3 separate regions of the Homo sapiens genome follow, and all the other regions are linked to region 3. The links are contacts of gene promoters, found by promoter capture Hi-C in blood cells and fetal thymus (Javierre and others, 2016). All regions are on one chromosome and are shown on one strand. Each heading gives the region's core, a stretch centred on a gene start or on the middle of the fragment in contact. The rest is flanking DNA. Distances are from core to core; before and after follow the strand shown.

Region 1 (2,700 bases), core at 78-2,577, 1.4 Mb after region 3:
TCGCTGTGCCTTTGTTTACAGATTCCCAAATGTGGTACTCATTCTACCTGGATATACCAGAGGATTTTGTGGGAATAAAAGGATGACTGTTTTTTCACTTGAATAATTAGGTATTTATTTATTTATTTATTTATTCATTTATTTTTGAGATGGCGTTTCACTCTTGTCACCCAGGCTGGAGTGCAATGGTGCAATCTCGGCTCACTGCAAACTCTGCCTCCTGGGTTCAAGCAATTCTCCTGCCTCAGCCTCCTAAGTAGCTGGGATTTCAGGCGCCCGCCACCATGCCTGGCTAATTTTGTATTTTTAGTAGAGATGGGGTTTCTCCATGCTGGTCAGACTGGTCTCAAACTCCTGACCTCAGGTGATCCTCCTGCCTCGGCCTCCCAAAGTGCTAGGATTACAGGAGTGAGCTACCGTGCCCAGCTAGGTATTTATTTTAATGTATATTAGAAAAAAGCAGCAAGCAAACCCATGATGTGCTATGTGGGTTTTTTTGTTTGTTTTTGTTTTTTTTTTTGAGACGATGTTTTGCTCTTGTCGCCCAGGCTGGAGTGCAGTGGCGTGATCTCGGCTCACAGCAACCTCCGCCTCCTGGGTTCAAGCAATTCTCCTGCCTCAGACTCCTGAGGATTACAGATGCCCGCCACCACACCTGGCTTTAGTAGAGATGGGGTTTCTCCATGTTGGTTAGGCTGGTCTTGAACTCCTGACCTCAGGTGATCCATCACCTCGGCCTCCCAAAGTGTCGGGATTACAGGAGTGAGCCACCACACCCAACCTACTATGTCTTTTTTATTTAATTATATTTAAATTTTAAATATAGTCCAATACGAATATTACATAAATATCGTATAGGTGGCAATCTTATGGAGTGAAAATCATGAAGGTGGATGTGTAGACATGAAGTCTATCTTCACTTAAGCTCTTTCCCTAGGTTAATGTCCTTCTCCCTGCCTGACCTCTGTGTATCCTCACTCACTGTACCCCATGCCTGGCTAATGGCCACTCATCCTTGAGCTGAGTAGCTCAGGCTTTCATTCCTCTAGAAGCTTCTCTTACCAATACCCAGCACTCCTACCCCAGGCTGGGTCAGGTGTCTCCTCTGCGAATCGTTGGAGGAAGGACACATAGCTAAGTTAATTCAGAAATAAGACTGCCTACTATAAAGCCATACTGAGTGGAGGCTCTGAAGAGCTACAGTTGTTGAACTTGCAAGACATGGAGCACTGCTTTCTTTCTTTTCTTTTTTTTTCAGATGGAGTCTAGCTCCGTCGTCTAGGCTGGAGTGCAGTGGCGTGATCTCAGCTTACTGCAACCTCCGCCTCCCGGGTTCAAGTGATTCTCCTGCCTCAGCCTCCTGAGTAGCTGGGATTACAGGCACCCACCACTACACCTGGCTAATTTATTGTATTTTCAGTAGAGACAGGGTTTCATCATGTTGGCCGGGCTAGTCTTGAACTCTTGACGTTGTGATTCACCCACCTCAGCCTCCCAAAGTGCTGGGATTACAGGCATGAGCCACCGCGCCCGGCCGGAGCACTGCTTTTCTACTGTGAAGTTTTTATTTCCCATTCAGCTCAGCCTGAGAAACAAGCTTCTGACCCCAGTCTTAGTAACAAGCCAGGGCATGAGAGCAATGCAACTTCATCCCTGGACAGAAACTAAGCACCATGTAGTTTCCTATACCAACCCGTCACTATGTGCCAGGAAGTCTCTGACTTTGGGACTGGAAGACGTGGAGCTGTTTGAGTTTGGCCAAAATAGTTTCCCTCTCTGAGCTTCGGTTTCCCTATTTGTAAAATGAAAGGAATGAGCCCTACTCACCTCCTAAGGTGGCCGTGAGTTTTGAGCTGAGTGAATGGACGTGGAAGCACTTTGGAAATCATGAAGCACTTTTGAGTGAATGGAAGGGGTTGTTGTTTTTAAGCACTTAAATGAGAACAGCCTGATACTGTGGGGTTTTCAGTGCGATGCTGTGTAACCAGAATAACCGGAGTGCGTGTTTGTGCATCTTTACCCACATGCATACACACACCCTGACTACAGAATGTGGCTTTAGGCCTCTTTTGAGATGCTGCGAGGTACAGCACACACAGGCAGCTCACGGAGGATATTAGGGCTTTGGGGTTTCGAAGGGCAAAGCCTGAGAGGAGAGATGTATGATCAAAATCAAGAAACAATTTCTTTCCTTCAGACATTCAACAGCTCCTGCTTGAGCAGCACCACTGTGCCAGGCTCTGGCAACGTTGGAGATAAAGGATGTGTCTCTGTTCTCAAAAGGATCGATTCCAGCAGGGAGAACCTACATGTGAATAAGTCACTCCATGCAAGGTGTATCTGGGATTACAGGTGTGCGCCAGCACTCAGCAACACACGGTGCTGCAGAAACCCTAAGATTTAACTCCAACTTCTGGAGAAGAGCTCACTGCAAGACAGATGAGAAAGAGGTTGTTTTAAGATGAAGAAAAGGAATGATACTTGATTCATCATCTTATACATGATTCACAAGAAAAATATAATGTCTTTATTTTTCAGAGGGTTTTTTAAAATTAAGAGATGGGATCTTGCTACGTTGCCCAGGCTGTAGTGCTGTGGCTATTCACAGGCATGGTCATAGCTCACTACTGTCTTGAACTCCTGGGCTCAAGCCATCCTCTTACCTCAGCCTCCCATGTAGCAGGGACTACAGGTGCCTGT
Region 2 (2,700 bases), core at 184-2,683, 1.4 Mb after region 3:
ATGTAATTCTCTGCATTGACTCTGGAAAGAGTTTTGTTCATTTGAGGGGTTTGTTGTGTGTTGGGGAAGACAGATGGATGTCAGGTGACCTACAGGAAGCAATTAAGAGACCACTGGGCATGTCCTCCAGGATGCCAAAATTTGGGGAAAGGAGATTTTTTTTTTTTTGAGACAGAGTCTTGCTCAGTTGCCCAGGCTGGAGTGCAGTGGTGCCATCTCAGCTCACTGCAAGTTCCACCTCCCCGGTTCACGCCATTCTCCTGCCTCAGCCTCCCAAGTATCTGGGACTACAGGCACCTGCCACCATGCCTGGCTAATTTTTTTTGTATTTTTAGTAGAGACGGGGTTTCACCGTGTTAGCCTGGATGGTCTCGATTTCCTGACCTCGTGATCCACCTGCCTCAGCCTCCCAAAGTGCTGGGATTACAGGCATGAGCCACTGCACCCAGCAGGGAAAGGAGATATTTTATCCTTTTTTTGGATGACCCATTGGGCCTCCTTTCAAGAAAAAAGGTATGTGTACCATGGACATATGACAAATAATGAAGGCTAAAAAAAAAAAGAAAAAAATTGCACTTTAAAAGCTTAGGCCAGGCACGGTGGCTCACGCCTGTAATCCCAGCACTTTGGGAGGCCGAGGCAGGTGAATCACTTGAGGTCAGGAGTTCAAGACCAGGCTGACCAACATGGTGAAACCCCATCTCTACTAAAAATACAAAAATCACCTGGGCGTGGTGGTGGGCACCTGTAATCCCAGCTACTCAGGAGGCTGAGTCAGGAGACTCGCTTGAAACCGGGAGGCGGAGGTTGCAGTGAGCCAAGATCGTGCCACTGCACTGCAGCCTGGGCAACAGAGCGAGACTCCATCTCAAAAAAATAATAATAAAATAAAATAAAAGCTAAAAGAGGGTACTTTCCTGACCTCATGATCCACCCGCCTCGGCCTCCCAAAGTGCTGCGATTATAGGCGTGAGCCACCATACCAGCTAAAAGAGGGTACTTTCTACTCTAGGATATTGAGTGGGCCAGTCTGCCCAAACAGGAAGGTTTAGCTTTGGGTGCTGTGAAACCCTCCCATTTGGTTTGCTCCAATTCAAGCTTGAGACTCTTCTAGTTTGCCTGGATGACAGTAGTTTTCTGACCTCTGAATACATCTAAATAAACTCACTCTGACAGTGCGCGGAATTGACCATTGCCCTGCCTTTGAGGCACTGTTACCGCCTCACCTAGGAATGGGTAACATTGCAAGGACTGAAGCTGTAAAATTACGTAGGTAGCTCACAACTATAATGCCAATACTTTGGGAGGCAGAGGTGGGAGGATCACTTGAAACCAGGAGTTCAAAACCATCCTGGTCAATATAGGGAGACTCTGTCTCTCCAAAAAATAAAAAATAAAATAAAAAAATAACAAAATTAGCCAGGAGTGGTGGCATGTTCCTGTGGTTCTGGCTCCTCAAGAGGCTGAGGTGGGAAGATCCCTTGAGCCCAGGAGGCTGAGGCTGCAGTGAGCTATGATTGTTTTACTGCACTCCAACCTGGGTGACAGAGCAAGACCCTGTCTCAAAAATAAAATAAAATTACGTAAGACGTTTGAAAAGGAAAGCATCTTCAAGACCATTTAACTCAAGGAAAAGACCCAGATAAAGGACTTGTGACCTTGCCCAAGGTCACATCAAGTTGACATCTGAGGAACCAGCACCTAGATCTGATTTACTTAACAGGCCAATCATCCATGGCTTCATCCTAACAGCCCAAGGGAAGCTTAGAGGAATCAAGATGATCAAAAACATCTTGCTGGCTGGGTGTGGTGGCTCATGCCTGTAAGCCCAACACTTTGGGAGGCCAAGGTGGGTGGATCACTTCAGATCAGGAGTTCCAGACCGGCGTGGCCAACATGGCGAAGCCCTATCTCTATTGAAAATACAAAAATTAGCCGGGCATGGTGTCGTGCACCAGTAATCCCAGCTACTTAGGAGGCTGAGGCAAGATAATTGCTTGAACCTGGGAGGCAGAGGTTGCAGTGAGCTGAGATCATGCCACTGCACTCCAGCCTGGGTGACAGAGTGAGACTGTCTCAAAAACAAAACAAAACCAACCAACCAACCAAACAAAAAACACCATGCTCACCTCGGCAGCACATATCCTAAAATTGGAAAAATACAGAGATTAGCATGGCCCCTGCGCAAGGATGACATGCAAATTCGTGAAGTGTTCCATATTTTTCTGTTCTTGCACAGGCTCTTAAGCAACATGGAAATAAGGTTGATGGAAAATAAACATCAGTTTCTAAACAAACAAACAAAGAAACAACAACAAAACAAAAAACACCATGCAGAAAAGATGGCTTTCAGAGGAAAGTTCTGTTTTTTTGTTTTTTTTCCTTTTTTTGAGATGGGGGATGAGGTCTCACCCTGTCACCCAGGCTGAGTGGTGCAATCACAGCACACTGCAGCCTCAACCGCCTGGGCTCAAGAGATTCTCCCTCTCAGCCCCCCAAGTAGCTGAGACCACAGACATGCACCACCATACCTGGCTAATTTTTTTAAAAAATTATTTTGTAGAGACAAGGGTATCCCTATGTTGCCCAGGCTGGTCTCTAACTCCTGGGCTTAAGGGCCTCGACCTCTCAAAGTGCTAGGATTACAGGCATGAGCCACAGTGCCTGGCCCTGGAAAGTTCTAAATTCAATGTAATGTTG
Region 3 (2,700 bases), core at 1-2,500:
GCACTGTCTCTTTCAGGCAGCACGTTTACCTGCGGGGTGTCATTGGGACACATGCTGCTTAGCTCCTTCTGCAGACGGTTAGGGAAGCCACTGAGCATCGTGCTGCCCCCGCAGAGCAGGATGTTCCCCATGAGGTCCCGTTTGAGGGCGATGTCACACTTGTTAAGGCAGGACACGGTTTGGGTGTGGAGGCCCAGCTGCATGGACTTGATGAGAGATGGCTTGAAGAACATCTCCGAGCAGAGGAACCGTTCCTGGCACAGCTGAATCTCCTTCCCATCCGGCAGCACGTAGCGGATCGTATGCTCACTGAGAGGGACTTTCTTCTCCTCAATGGGATCCAGGGCCACAAAGCAGCATTTCTTCTTGATGTCCTCCACGATGCCCATCTGGTCCTGGGTGAATTCGTTCCCCGCACTGTTCAGCAGGCCCAGCAGGTAGGCTGTCAGGTCAGAGCCCGCGTAGTCCAGCCTTCCGGTGATGCTGGGCAAAGGATAACCCTCGTAGATGGGGACCACGTAGGACACGCCATGGCCCACCTCCACCACCAGGCCGGAGGTCCTTCCATAGGAGTACATGGACAGGCGCGACTGGTAGGCGATGTGCATTGCAGGGGTGTTGAAGGCTTCAAACAGCATTTCAGCATATTTCTCTCTGTTGGTGTGTGGGCTCAGTGGCGGGTCTGAAACCAAGACCGCATGCTCCTCCGGGGCGATCTTCATCTCTTGTCGGAAGAGATATTCCCAGATATCCTGCACTGTATCCCAGTCCACGATGATGCCATGTCGCAGAGGGTTAACCAGCTTGAGATGAACGTTTGTGTTGTTGAGTTCCTGCCCCACGAATGTCTCCTTGCGATTATCCCCAGTCTTGGCGGTCTCCATGTAGGGCTTGCCCACCGTTGTTGAGATCTTGTGGGTGGGTCTTGGCAGGCCGGCAAAGCCACATTTACAGTAGCCAGTGCCCAGGTCCACGACCACTGCTTTGGTCACCTCCTGCTTGGGCCTCTCCTTGGCTGCCTTTGATTCAGTAGGTTCTTGTGGCTCTGAACTCGTATGGCGGACCCACACGGCCCGCTTCGCCGGGCCATCCCTTAAAGAGGCAGTCTGGAGGGCCTGTGTCTGCAGGGGGGCCTGGTTGCCCACCTTCTTGGTGGGCCCATCCCCCATGATTGCTGCTGGTGGAGCCCACATGTTGTCAAGAGCCGCACCACTCTTAGAAAGTTCTCAATCCCACTGGATTCAAGGCCTGAAAGGCCTACATCAGAGGATACCCTGAGAATTTTCCCAACAGTGACATCACTAATTATGATGTAATCTGGTGACCTGGGCTTTCTAGATATTGCAAACCCTTATCCTGTGTTAGGGTACATTTGGGATATTGTTTTTGAAATGGCTCCCCTTTTCCTAAATTTCGTAACAAGACTGATTTATTCAATTAATTAATATTTCTTGAATGTCTGCTATATACAAGGCAGCTGGGAATTCGCTGGTGAAAAAAACAGACAAAATCCCTTATTCTAGTCGGTGGCGGGTGGGGGTGACAGACAATAACCAAAATGAGCGTTAAGAGCAAAAGCAGGGTGGCAGTGCTAGTGTGGCCTGGGCAGGGCTTCCTGAGAGGGTGACATTTGAATGAAGACCTGCAGGAGGTGAGGGAGAGAGCCATGTGTATGTCAGGGGAGCAGCAGGTGCAGAGGACTGGAGGCAGATGTGTGACTGAAGAGTTAGATCAGGGGTCAGCAGGCTGCAGTCCAATCCGGTCCCCGGCTTGTTGGATAGGAATACAGCCGTGCTCATTCATGTACGTATTGTCCGTGACTGCCATTGCAGTACAACAGTAGAGCTGAGTCACAGCATTGAAGACTGCATTGCCCAAAAAGCTGAAAGAAAGTAAATACTGACTGACCCTTAAAAAGTTTGCCGACCTCTCGAGTTAAAGGAGGAGCAGGAAGAAAAGTGTGGCTGGCATAGAAGGAGTAAGGAAAAGTAGATGAGATGGGGTGGGGGAAGGCAAGCAGCTCATGGTAGGCCTCATAGGCCAATGCAAGGATCGTGGGTAAGGTCAGAAAGCACTAGAGGATTTGGCACAGAGCACTGACACCATCTGATTTAGATGTTAGTGGGAATCCTTTGCTGCTATGGTGACTAAGGGCACTAAGGGTGACCCTTAGAACAACCTTAAGGGGAATTATTTTTGGATATACATGTGTACACTTACTGTGCCTTCATCAGGGTCATTGGCTAGACAGTGAAATTAGACTCTACAAAATCCCACTGACAACACTGAGGCTTTTAGGTGCATAGCTCACCCAAGGATATCCAACCAGGAGTAGCCAAGCTCTCCTGACTGTGGCTTCCTCCCCAGGATGTGCTGGGACACAGCTTGATGGGACCTAGCGTGCAACTCTTAGGCTGTTTGGCCACCATCTTGCATGCCATTTCTGAAGCTGGACACATTGGTGTGGATGCCTGCCACACTCAGGGCAGAATCCAACCTTATGTTATGCCACACCCTGAACCTGATCCCAGCCCTTCATAAAAGAGGCAGTCACCACAATAATGGGCTTTCTCCTTTAGAGAGGCTACGGGAGTTGCTCTCAGTTCCTTGTTGGGTATGAGAGAAGAAAAGGACCAAGTCCAGTCTCATGAGGTTTGTGGTGACTATCTGATGGGGGCAGCAAGGTGTCATCCCAAGGAC

What was found. The method cuts DNA at HindIII sites, captures the fragments that hold promoters and counts their contacts. A CHiCAGO score of 5 or more calls a contact.
Region 1: a fragment that was not itself captured here is called in contact with the fragment with the promoter of ACTL7A in region 3 in 4 of 17 cell types (monocytes, M1 macrophages, M0 macrophages and 1 more); the score reaches 8.5 in monocytes.
Region 2: a fragment that was not itself captured here is called in contact with the fragment with the promoter of ACTL7A in region 3 in 4 of 17 cell types (M0 macrophages, naive B cells, M1 macrophages and 1 more); the score reaches 10.3 in M0 macrophages.

Annotation. Positions count from the first base shown.
Region 1 is chr9:107,443,890-107,446,589 of GRCh38, reverse strand. It overlaps LINC01509 (long intergenic non-protein coding RNA 1509), which reads left to right. Exons shown (of 8, transcript NR_121581.1): 4 at 22-110. Among named protein-coding and RNA genes, the nearest start is that of LINC01509, 21 kb to the left of the region's middle. The HindIII fragment of the contact is 545 bases long and covers 1,055-1,599 here.
Region 2 is chr9:107,474,561-107,477,260 of GRCh38, reverse strand. It overlaps the pseudogene RNU6-492P. Among named protein-coding and RNA genes, the nearest start is that of LINC01509, 9.3 kb to the right of the region's middle. The HindIII fragment of the contact is 665 bases long and covers 1,101-1,765 here.
Region 3 is chr9:108,860,816-108,863,515 of GRCh38, reverse strand. It overlaps ACTL7A (actin like 7A), which reads right to left and starts at 1,250. Exons shown (of 1, transcript NM_006687.4): 1 at 1-1,250. The coding sequence starts at 1,193. The HindIII fragment of the contact is 6,848 bases long and covers 1-2,700 here.